Linked DNA regions of Homo sapiens: regions 1 and 2 are each linked to region 3. Evidence: promoter capture Hi-C in human tissues and cell types (Jung and others, 2019). All regions are on one chromosome and are shown on one strand. The core of a region is centred on a gene start or on the middle of the fragment in contact, and the rest is flanking DNA. Distances in the headings are between cores, read along the strand shown. Region 1 holds the start of SNX32 (sorting nexin 32). Region 2 holds the start of RNASEH2C (ribonuclease H2 subunit C). Region 3 overlaps PACS1 (phosphofurin acidic cluster sorting protein 1).

Evidence for each region. Contacts are between HindIII fragments. The study calls those that stand out against the background at their distance.
Region 1: the fragment with the promoter of SNX32 here is called in contact with a fragment that was not itself captured in region 3 in 5 of the 25 tissues and cell types used here (IMR-90 fibroblasts, adrenal gland, dorsolateral prefrontal cortex and 2 more).
Region 2: the fragment with the promoter of RNASEH2C here is called in contact with a fragment that was not itself captured in region 3 in 1 of the 25 tissues and cell types used here (mesenchymal stem cells).

The regions. Positions count from the first base shown.
Region 1 is chr11:65,831,857-65,835,617 of GRCh38, reverse strand. SNX32 (sorting nexin 32) reads right to left here and starts at 1,655. Exons shown (of 13, transcript NM_152760.3): 1 at 1,517-1,655. The coding sequence starts at 1,552. It overlaps LOC124902693, which reads left to right and starts at 1,819. Exons shown (of 7, transcript XM_047427980.1): 1 at 1,819-3,761. The coding sequence starts at 2,107. The coding sequence ends at 3,723. RefSeq lists an enhancer at 1,574-1,663 and silencers at 1,588-1,800, 1,974-2,103. The HindIII fragment of the contact is 13,089 bases long and covers 1-3,761 here.
Region 2 is chr11:65,719,241-65,723,503 of GRCh38, reverse strand. RNASEH2C (ribonuclease H2 subunit C) reads left to right here and starts at 2,706. Exons shown (of 4, transcript NM_032193.4): 1 at 2,706-2,917; 2 at 3,087-3,262; 3 at 3,340-3,459; 4 at 3,695-4,263. The coding sequence starts at 2,746. The coding sequence ends at 3,721. KAT5 (lysine acetyltransferase 5) reads right to left here. Exons shown (of 13, transcript NM_182710.3): 13 at 3,900-4,263. RefSeq lists an enhancer at 2,561-2,630 and a silencer at 2,781-3,020. The HindIII fragment of the contact is 7,035 bases long and covers 1-4,263 here.
Region 3 is chr11:66,116,535-66,120,717 of GRCh38, reverse strand. All of the region lies in intron 1 of PACS1 (phosphofurin acidic cluster sorting protein 1), which reads right to left. Among named protein-coding and RNA genes, the nearest start is that of PACS1, 48 kb to the right of the region's middle. The HindIII fragment of the contact is 5,164 bases long and covers 262-4,183 here.

The sequences.
Region 1 (3,761 bases), core at 406-2,905, 280 kb after region 3:
ATCCTCATCCTCAGCCACGGCCCACTATGCATATGCCTCCATCTCCCAAAAGGGTGCACCTCTCCATGCTCTAACCATCCTTGGCACAACGTGGATGCTCGACAACTCTTTGCTGAAGGAAGTCAAAAGGAAGAAATGGTCTTATCATTACATGAACTCAGAACACAAGTGAAGCCATTAGGGCTGAACAGGATTCTCTCGCCTTGGGAAAGGAGAAGAGGATGCCAGCCTCTGCTCAATCCCTAACATCCTGCCCTCCTCCCCGCCCTCACCTCCCACCCCCTACCCACCTACCCCCATCAAGACAGCCTGAGTTGGTCTTGGGGAGGGTAAGAGTGACAGTGACGGGTCCCTTTCCATCTGTAAGGACAAAGGCAAAACCCTGCCTCCCTTGGCATCCTCATCAGTCCGCACACAGGTGCCACAGAGGCTCCCCACTCCCTTGCTCAAGTCTCCTTTCTCTCACTTGCGCAGACACACACATACACACAGAGACACATGGGCACATACACACACACAGACACACGAGACAAACACAGACACACGCACACACAGACACACATAGAAACACACACAGATACACAGACACACACAAACACACAGGCACAGAGAAACACACACACAGACACACACAACGACATACACAGATCATACACAGGCACACAGACACACACAGATGCACACACAGACACACTGACATAGACACACACAGATATACAAAGACACACGGATACAGACACACACAGACACATGCAAACACACACACAGACCCAGAAATACACAGACACACACACACAGACACACGCAGACCATACACACACACAGAGACACACACACACAGACATAAAGATGCACGCAGACCATACATAGACACAGAGACAGACACACACTCAGACACAAAGAGACACAGACCTGCGCAGACACACACAGGCACATGCGTGCACACACAGATACACACAGAGACACACACAGATGCATACATGCACACATGCAGACCATACACACAGACAGACACAGACACAAAGACACACGCAGACCATACACAGACACAGACACACAGACACACACACACAGACATGCACAGACACACACAGAGACAGACACAGACATGCACGCACAAACACCCACATGGACGCATACGTGCACACACACAGACACACACAGGCCATACACACACACACAGAGACACGGAGACACACAGACACACACACAGATACACAGAGACACACAAAGACACAGACACACACTGAGACACACACAGACACACAGACACACAGAGACACAAATACAGACATACACAGATACACACACACACAGACATATGCAGGCACATCGACATACACACAGACACACAGAGAAACAGACACATGCAGACTATACACACACAGACACACACAGAAACACACAGAGGCAGACCACACACACACAGACACACACACACCACCGCATGATTGGGCATCACGGGCTTTCATGGAGTGAGGGGAGGCTGGGGTGGGGGTCTTCATCCTTTCTCTACCTTGCCCTCCTTCCCAACCTCCGCATACGTCTCCATCGCTCTCCTGGGCTTCAGCGTCCGGCCACTGCCCGCGTGCTCCCGCAGGTCGTCCCCGTAACTCGCCCGAGGAACTGACCGAGTGAGGATGCTCTCAGCTGACGGGGACGCTCTCCCCCGCCCGGCCAAGGAGTCGCCTGGAGTCGGGGGCGGTTCCCACCGCGTTTCCCTCAGCCACGCCTTTCGATTGGGTAGCGGGGCACCGCGCGTGACGCCATTGGCTGCATTGTCTGTCGTTCCTGTCCCAGGCCCCAGCTTTTAAGGGACACGCGGCACGGAGAGTGGGCCGGTGATAGGCGACAGTGTGGGAGCTGGGGTCAGAGTTCATAGGGTCGCAGAGGCCGCGTGCCGCGTCTCCCTCCAGTCCCCGGGGGACTGACCCCCACAACAACCCCGTGCCGCCGTTCCGGGCCCCTCCTTCCAACGGCCACGTGCGGCCTGCGCGTGCGCACTCGCCCAGTTTGGCGCCCACCAGGCAGTGGGGAAGGGGAAGGGGAAGGGGAAGAGGGTGAGGGTGGCAGGGTGGGGACAGGGAATGGGAAGCAGTGGTGGGGATGTGGGTGGTGGACCAGGGGCGAGGGCAGGGGACAATGTCTGTGGAGAAGGGGGGTCTGTTTAGGTTTCCGCTCTTGGACGGGAGGGAGCGGCGGGGTAAGCAGCCTAGGAGGACTAGGGAGCTCCACAAGTCCCGCGGCCAGGGCGCCCCAAGCGAGGCCGGGGTCCGCGAACGGTCGCCACTGGAGCGGGGCTGCAAGGGGGTGCCGATGCTGCGAGAGAAAACCTGGGGACCTTGGAACGGGCTCATGGTAATTGGGAAGAGAGTGGAGCTCCTGACTAGAAACACTCGAAAGCCGAAGCTGGAGTCTGAGTACTGGAGACTGGAAGATGTGGAAAAGACGGTCTTGAAAGGGAAGTCAGGCCCGAGTCAGGAAAGGATGGATGTGAAGCTGCTATACCGTGGAGCAAGTGCATCACAAGCTTCAGCAGATTTGGGGAAAGACAGCCCAAGGGGTATTTGGGGAAAGCAAGAGGTCAAACACGAAATAAAGGCTAAATCTAAGAGTGCAGGGATGACAGCAGGGCCTATGAAGGGGTCTGGGTTTGAAGAGAGGTTGAGGTCTGCTGGGGAGAAGGTAGGGACCAGTGGAGAGGACTTGAGATCCAATGGATATAAACTGGGACAGGATGAGAAGGGGTTGAGGTCTAGTGTAGACAAGATGAGATCAAGTGTAGAGAAGCTGAGGTCTACTAGTGAGAAGCTGGTGTGCAGGGGAGAGAAGCAGGGGTCCAGTGGAGTGAAGCTGAGGTCCAGTGGCAGAAAGCTGAGATCAAGTGGAGAGAATTTGAGATCAAGTAGAGAGAAGCTGAGATGGAGTGGAGAGAAGCTGGGAACTAGTGGAGAGAAGCTGGGAACCAGTGATGAGAAGCTGAGGTTGAGTGGAGAGATGCTGAGATCAATCAGAGAGAAGCTGAGGTTGAGTGGAGAGAAGCTGGGAACCAGTGATGAGAAGCTGAGGTTGAGTGGAGAGAAGCTGAGGTTGAGTGGAGAGAAGCTGAGATCAAGCAGAGAGAAGCTGAGGTTGAGTGGAGAGAAGCTGGGAACCAGTGATGAGAAGCTGAGGTTGAGTGGAGAGAAGCTAAGATCAAGCAGAGAGAAGCTGAGGTTGAGTGGAGAGAAGCTAAGATCAAGCAGAGAGAAGCTGAGATTGAGTGGAGAGAAGCTGGGAACAAGTGATGAGAAGCTGAGGTTGAGTGGAGAGAAGCTGAGATCAAGCAGAGAGAAGCTGGGAACCAGTGGAGAGAAGCTGAGATCAAGCAGAGAGAAGCTGAGGTTGAGTGGAGAGAAGCTGGGGTCAAGTGCGGAGAAGCTGAGATCTAGTGAGGAGAAGTTAGGGACCAGCGGGGAGAAATTGGAGGGTTCAAGAATGGGGAGCATAAATGAGAAGAACATTGAAAAAGTGGTAGAAGTTACTGGCGATGAAAGAGTGATGGCATTTACTCATGATGAGATGGAAATTCCTTTTGAAAGTGTCAAAGGGAGTGAGGAACTACAAGGGACTGAGAAAGGAGTGGGAGTTGAGGGGGGCATCTTGAGTGAAGTGAAAGATATCACTGATGAATCTGTTTCTATGGAAAAAAAAGATATTATAGGTGAAGGTACCAGTGAATGAGGCAGATGAAGGATTGACACCAAAGAAGGAAAGAGGCA
Region 2 (4,263 bases), core at 1,457-3,956, 400 kb after region 3:
GTGACTAATTCTGGGGATCTTAAAATAAAATAAAAATCATTAGGAACAAAATAATTCAGTCGATATCTAGTTTAAAAATGGACATATAAAAATCAACAGGTTTGCTATAGACAAGGGGTCTGAAAACTATGGCCTGTGGTTCAAATCCAACCCCTTGTCTGTTTCTGCAAAGATTTACTGGAACACAACAACGCTCATTCATTTATGTATTGTCTATGACTGCTTTCATGCTATAACGGTGAAGTTGAGTAGCTGCGACAGAAGCCATAAAGTCCACAAAACCTAAAATATTTACTATTTGACCCCTTACAGAAAAAGTTTGCCAACCCCTGCTATAGATTAAAAAGAAAATCAGTTAGAAAATAAAATGAAAAAAATAAAAGCCCCAATTTTGGTTTTTAGAGAAAGGGTCTCCCTCCGTAACCCAGGCTGGTGTGCAGTGGTGCAATCGTGACTCGAACGGCAGCCTCAAACTCCTTGGCTTAAGTGATCTTCCCACCTTAGCTTCTTGAGTAGCTGGGACTACAGGCACATGCCACTGTGCCCCACTCATGTTTAAAAAAATTTTTTTCTTTGTAGGAACGGAGTCTTGCTATGTTTCCCAGGCCGGTCTCAAACTCCTGGCTTCAAGCAATCCTCCCCCATCTTGGCCTCCTAAAGCACTGGAATTACAGGTGTGAATCATCATGCCCAGCCCCTCAGTTCTTAATAGAAACAATTATTAATATAAGCTAAGAAGAAATAAACTTTACAATATGTATTAATAGCTATTATATATGAACAAAACCTCACAACTGTACAGATATCCAAGGAGATGTGAATAAATTGAATTATGTCTTTCCTGATAGAAAACTAAAGCAAGCCTTTTTCTAAATTAATCTGCCACTCTAGTGAAAGAGCACCAGGAATACATCTGCAGTTGAACAAATTGGGTATATTACTCCTGCACTCTGGGGAATTTCAATAAGAGGGTGCTAGAAAGGACTTATAGGAGGATTTGTGCCCATGTTCAGTGATTTCAGTCAGGGTTTAGGGAAGCCAGGCTTCTCTCTGGCTTGGATGCTGTCAGAGGTGGGGGTATGTCTATGACGGACTATCTTAATGAGTCTTGCCCAGAAGGAGAGAAGATTAGTTGGAGGCTAATGCTGTAATTGGTAAGGAAACAACAGTCACTCTCTTATGGGAGAAAGAGGGATGTTTCATGCCTTTTGTGGTTTGGACAGTGTTCACCTTTGCCAGCATTCAGATGTGACGATGGAGTGGTTCTGTTTCTGTCTTGCTCCCTCACGGTCACAGAGTGACCTTGTCCGATGCTGATGTTCTCTGAAATTGTTTATATTCAACAGAATACCAAGGCCAGCTCCCAGATGTGCAGGGATGTATAAATTAAACGCAATTTAAATCTAAATTTCCAGTTTTGTGTTTGTTTTATGTGAGAACTTGAAAAAATATATCTAAGTTGGGTGTCTGAACAAATAAACATTAGAGAAGAGCTGAGAAACCAAAGAGAGAAAATTGTGAAATCTAAAAGACTGAAAAGTGTTGATAAATTTGACTACAAAAAATTAGTCTTTGTCCTGGGTGCAGTGGCTCACGCCTGTAATTCCAGCGTGATTTGGGAGGCCAAGGTGGGCAGATCACTTGAGTCCAGGAGTTCAAGACCAGCCTGGGCAACATGGCAAAACTCCACCTCTACCAAAAATACAAAAATTAGCTGCGTGGTGGCGCAGGCCTGTGGTTCCAGCTACACAGGAAGCTGAGGATGGGGGATGGATTAAGCCTGGGAGGTCGAGGCTGCAGTGAGCCAATCAAACCACTGCACTCCAGCCTAGGCGAGTGAGACCTTGTCTAAAAGACCAAACAACCACAAAAATAAGTCCTTGTCCAGCAAAAATCACCTTTACACAGGTTTGCAAGACAGACCACAGATAAAACATTTTCAATGCATTTAAGAAAAGGGTTGATGTCCCTAATAAACTAAAAATGAATAACCTACCTACTAATCAATATAAAAAGAGTACTTTTCAGAATCGTTTTAGATTTTTACAACGACATGTGCCATTAAAAACAATAAAAGAAAAAAACCCGGCTGGGGGCGGTGTCTCACGCCTGTAATCCAAGTACTTCAGAAGGCCGAGGCTGGAGGATCGCCTGAGGTCAGGAGTTCGAGACCAGCCTGGCCAACATGGCGAAACCCAGTCTCTACTAAAAATACAAAAATTAGGTGGGCATGGTGGTGTGCGCCTGTAATCCCAGCTACTCCGGAGGCTGAGGCAGGAGAATCGCTTGAACCCGGGAGGCGGAGGTTGCAGTGAGCTGAGACCGTGCCTGGCACTCCAGCCTGGGCGACAAAACGAGACTCTGTCAAAAAAAAATAATAATAAATAAGAAAAAGAAAGAAAGAGGGAAGGACGGGAAGGAAGGGAAGGGAAGGGGGGAAGGAAGGGAGGCAGGGAGGAGGGGGAGGGGGGAGGGGGAAGGAGGGGGGAGGGGGAAGGAGAGGGGGAGAGGGGAGGGAGGAAAGAGGGGAGGGGGGAAGGAAGGAAGGAAAAAAACAAAACACAACTGGAAAACCCTAGGACTTGAACCCAGGGAAAGCGTTAGGGGGTAAGGGGACTACACTTCCCGTGAAGCTCCGCGGCGGCTTCCCGTGAGGCCCCGCGGAGGCTTCCTGAGAGGTCCTGCGCGCTTTCCGCGCCAGCTTCAGTGTCAGCTCGCGAGCCCTGGCGTCGCGTAGGAGGGAGGATGGAGAGCGGCGACGAAGCGGCCATCGAGAGGCACCGCGTCCACTTGCGCTCCGCCACATTGCGCGACGCCGTACCCGCCACACTGCATCTGCTGCCCTGCGAGGTTGCGGTGGACGGGCCCGCCCCGGTGGGGCGCTTCTTCACGCCCGCCATCCGCCAGGGCCCCGAGGGTGAGCCCTGCGGCCGGACTACGGCTCCCGGCAGCCCCCGCGCCGGCCTGCGCGCTTCTCATCGCCTGGGCTCCTGGGGATCGTGGTCCGTCCGGAGGTGGCGGGAGGGCAGCTCCGGGCTCGACCCAGCGTGGGTCCTGCCTGAGGCCCTTTGCGCCTCCCGCTCCAGGACTCGAAGTGTCGTTTCGGGGCCGCTGTCTACGGGGAGAGGAGGTGGCGGTGCCGCCTGGCCTCGTGGGATACGTGATGGTGACAGAAGAGAAGAAGGTGTCGATGGGGAAGCCAGACCCCTTGCGGGATTCCGGGACTGACGACCAAGAGGAGGAGCCGCTGGAGCGGGACTTCGTGAGCAAAGGGATAGGGTTGAAAGGGGGTGCGGGCGGGAGCTGTAGTCCCGATGCTGAGCCAGGCCCCTTCCCCAGGACCGCTTCATTGGAGCCACTGCCAACTTCAGCCGCTTCACCCTGTGGGGTCTGGAGACCATCCCTGGCCCGGATGCCAAAGTGCGTGGGGCCTTAACTTGGCCCAGCCTTGCGGCAGCGGTGAGTAGACGAGGAGTTCCGTCTTGCCCCCGGGTGGATGGGCTGGGGAGCACAATTGCGCAGACGGAGCCTGGAGGATTCTACTGGGTAGTGTGTGGGAAGCGTAGCTCCCTGACCACTCTTCCTAGCATGTCTAGAAGCGGTTATTCTGAACAGCTGGGTCCTTCCTCGGGTATGGGGGCCAGCTTGCCGCCCTGTCTTACAAGTCCAACAGTAGAGGCGACTCCTGTTGCAGATTCACGCACAGGTGCCCGAGGACTGAGAACCAGAGCTTGAAATTCAAAGCTGCGATCCCTTCACAGCAGTAAACCAGCTCTTTGGAACCGATTCCATCACCCCAATAAAGGAGCTCTTCACAGCACCTGTGAGTCTGGGCGCCTTAGAGCCCCTAAGCCAGCATGGGCCCTTTCCCCCTCCCCACCAAGAACTTTGCATGGCTCTGGCATATAGAAACAATTTATTGCCGGGGGCAATAGGGGTAAGAGAAGCCAGAAATTTTTGCAGCCAGCACCCACCCCACCCCCAACTTCTACTTTACAAAAGAAATTTTTACAATCACCAGCCCTCTGTACAGAGCTCCCCCATCCGGATCCCTTCTCACTGTACACAGCTGCCTGGCTCCCTCTGGTCCCTGCTTCAGAGGAGGCCTGGGCCTGTGGCCAGCTGACCTTGGAGTTGGTCTGAGCCCGGAGCTCGCCTTGGTGCTGGGCACCAGTGGGCCCCTGCCAGGCCTGTCCTCTCCTTTTTGAGCTGTCCTCAGCCCCATCTCCCTTAGAGTGCTTTGTGGGAGCTGCAGTGGGGGCG
Region 3 (4,183 bases), core at 1,594-4,093:
CAGCAAGTATTATTATCATTCCCAGGAGGAAATGGAAGGCCAAGATCATACACAGCTAGTAAGTAAATGGCAAAGCCAGGCTTTGAACCACAGCTATATTATATGGCTCCAAAGCGTATGCCCTTAACCACAATCTAATACATGTCTAGCTTCCTATGCATTGATATGATCTCATATAATTGCATGTAATTCAAATAATGTTGATTCTAGTAGAAAAGCTGGCTTTTAAAGGAACGTCATATCTCTTTCATTAAGCAAATCCTAAATCCAGCTATTTCACAAATTGAGTTTGATTAAAATGAAGTATATAATTAGTATTCAGGCTGGGTCCAGTGGCTCACGCCTGTAACCCTAGCACTTTGGGAGGCCAAGACAGGTGGATCACTTGAGGTCAGGAGTTCAAGAACAGCCTGGCCAATAATGGTGAAACCCCATCTCTACTAAAAATACAAAAATTAGCCGAGAGTGGTGGCACACAGGGGGCAGAGGTTGCAGTGAGCCGAGATCGTGCCACTGCACTCCAGCCTGGGCAACAGAGCGAGACTCTGTCTCAAAAAAAAAAAAAAAAAGAGTTCACAGACATAATTTTCACAGTTATAGTAGATTAAATACCTATTAGTGCCAAGAGTTTTAAGAATATGATCTCAGTCCATTCTCATGAGGTCATTCTTACAGCCACATTTTCAGATGAGCTAACAAAGGCACACAGCATTTAGATAAGCTGCTCAAGGTCTCCTGGGCAGAAAGGGACAGAACCAGGATTCACACTGAGGTCACTCCTTCCACCATGCAGCAATGTCTCTACTGAGCTGAACGGTGCCTAGAGATGATCTAGTGTAATCCCCAAACAATCCTACCATTTAGAGACCTGCAGGGAGGTTAAAGGACAGTTCTGACGTCCTTCAGCTAACAGCACACCAGGAGTGGATCCCGCATTTCCTGTTCTCCAGGCAAGCATGTTCTATAATCATTCTGACTCACACCAGATACCCTATTTTTGAGAGATATTAAAATATTCCCATAACTAAATTCAAAACAGACAAAACAAGAATGAGGCAAATGCCTGTGCCTGTGCACTGAGATCCGCCTGAATTATCCTTTGGTGGGAGATAGGAAAAGAGATGTCTCAAATATATCCTGTGTACTACTTGCAATCAGCTAACAGAAGACAACAGGATTTCATGCATTCCTTTTGACTACCATCATTTTTTCAACCTCCTGCCTTTCAGTAGGGCAGTTAAAGCATTAAACAGGAGCCAGCAAGCTTTCTCTGTAAAGGGCTTAACATTTCTGGCCTAGCAGGCCATAAGGTCTCTGATGCAACTGTTCAATTCTACCGTTGTAGGGAGAAAGCAGCCACAGACCATATACAAACGAATGAGCATGGCTGTGTTCCAGTGAGGTTTACAGACAGAAATTTGAATTTCATATAATTTTCACATGTCACAAAATATTACTACTCTTTTGATGTTTTTCAGCTATAGTACTTAGAAAGGTATGTCTTATGGGCTACACAAAAACAGGTCGTGGGCCACAGAGTCTGGTGATCCTGCATTAAACCAAAGAAGTATTAACGCTACCGGTCAGAAGAGAGCAGAGGACAAGCAGGGAGTAGGGGGCCTCTCCCTTGTCCATCTGGTGCCACTGGTTCAGGAAGCCTTCTTGGGCCACCCCCACTCCCACTCAGCTCAGGCATCCCACTTCTGTGTTTTCCCTGACACTTGTGCCTACCTTTATCTTAGCACTTACTATAACATGTTGTGGTTGATTATTCAATTGTCTATATCTCCCCAGTCACAAGGGCAAGCAATGTTTTTTAGTTTCTGTATTCCTAGCTGACACAGATGCTCAAAAAAATATTTGGGAAGGGAGAGAAGGAAATAACGAGAAAATAAGCTCAGAATATCTTTTTTTCTTTTTCTTTCTTTTTTTTTTTTTTTTTTTTTTTGTAGACATGGGGTTTCGCCATGTTGCCTAAGCCCAGGCTGGTCTTAAACTCCTGAGCTCAGGTGATTGGTCCACTTCAGCCTCCCAAAGTGCTGGGATTACAGGCGTGAGCTACCACGCCTGGCCTAGAAAATATCCTTTTTATTTATTTATATTTTAGAGACAAGATCTCACTCTGTCACTCAGGCTGGAGTACAGTGGCACAATCATGGCTCACTGCAGCCTTGACTTCCCAGGCTCAAGTGATCCTCCCACCTCAGCCTCCCAAGGAGCTGGGACTACCAGTGCACACAACCACATCTGGCTGATATTTTCATTTTTTGCAGAGACAAGGTCTCCTTATGTTGCCTAGGGTGGTCTTGAGCTCCTGGGCTCAAGCAATCCTACTGCCTCAGCCTCCCAAAGTGCCCGGATTATAGGCATGAGCCACAGCGCCCGGCCCCTGGCTGGAAATTCTTATCTTTATACAGACACTAGGTAGCAGCTCAAGGTCTTGATAGTGGCTCAATGGCATACACATAACAGGTTAAATCAGTGGTTCACCTGTGTGTAGCATCTGTTAACCATCTATGCTGTTTATGTTCCATAAATATGCACCAACCCCTTAGTCTATTCTCTTTACTTATACCTACCTCAAAGCCAGGCATCTGATTACTTGTTTAGACTAACGTAGATGAATAATCCAAACATACGTTTAAAATGACCCCCACATGTGCCAAAAAGGCTTCAGGGTACCCTGGGGTTCTACAGAACACAAATGGAAAAAACATCCTACAAACACTAGTCTCAAAAGTGAATGACAGCTTCAAATAATTTAAAGCCACAATTACCAGATATAATAGGGAGATATGTGGAAAGTCTACCGCATCATTATCACATAAAGCATCAAAGAGGAAACAAACATCTTTTTTTTTTCTTTTTTTTTGAGATGGCATTTCACTCTTGTTGCCCAGGCTGGAGTGCAATGGCGCAATCTCGGCTCACTGCAACCTCACCTCCTGGGTTCAAGCAATTCTCCTGCCTCAGCCTCCCAAGTAGCTGGAATTACAGGCATGCGCCACTATGCCCAGCTAATTTTGTATTTTTAGTAGAGATGGGGTTTCTCCATGTTGGTCAGGCTGGTCGCGAACTCCCGACCTCAGGTGATCCGCCTGCCTCGGCCTCCCAAAGTGCTGGGATTACAGGCATGGGCCACCACGCCCGGCCATAACAAACATCTTTTAATCACATGTTGAGGGCTGGTCTTGTAACTCTAATGAGGGGTCCTTAACCTTTTCTTTTTCTTTCTTTTCTCTCTTTTTTTTTTTTTTGAGATGGAGTTTTCCTCTTATTGCCCAGTCTAGAGTGCAGTGGTGCGATCTCGGCTCACTGCAACCTCTCCTCCTGGGTTCAAGCGATTCTCTTGACTCAGCCTCCTGAGTAGCTGGGATTACAGGTGCCCGCCACCATGCCCAGCTAATGTTTGTATTTTTAGGAGAGACACGATTTCACCATGTTGGCTAGGCTGGCTTCAAACTCCTGACCTCAAGTGATCTATCCACCTAGGCCTCCCAAAGTGCTGGGATTACAGGTGTGAACCACTGCGCCCAGCCTCCTTAACCCTTTCAATGCCAGGGTCCCTTTGGCAGTCTGGAGAAGTCAGAGGACCCCTTCTCAGAGCAATGCTTTAATGCATAATACACATCGTTTTTAAAAGGAAACAATTTATAATAATAAAGCCACAGTACTACTCCTGACACTTCCTGTCTTCTTCCCCTGCTTAGTTTTTTCTACCCAGCATTTGTCCCTACTGAATTCACTATATACTGCCCTTTATTTGTGTTATCTTATTTAGTATATGTCTCCCCAACTAGAATCTGAGTTGTTTTTTTTTTTGTTTTTGAGATGGAGTCTCACTTGGTCACCCAGGCTGGAGTGCAGTTGCACGATCTTAGCTCACTGCAAACTCCACCTCCCAGGCTCAAGTGATCCTCTCACCCCAGTCTTATGAGTAGCTGGGACCACAGACACACACCACCACGCCTGGCTAATATCTTGTATTTTTGGTAGAGATGTGATTTCAACATGTTGCCCAGGCTGGTCTTGAACTCCTGAGCTCAAGTAATCCACCTGCCTCAGCCAAAGTGCTGGGATTACAGGCGTGAGCCACTGTGCCCAGCTAGAATCTAAGTTCTATGAAGGCAGAGATGTTCATCTATTTTGTTCACCACTCTATTTCCAAAAAGCTAGAAAACTG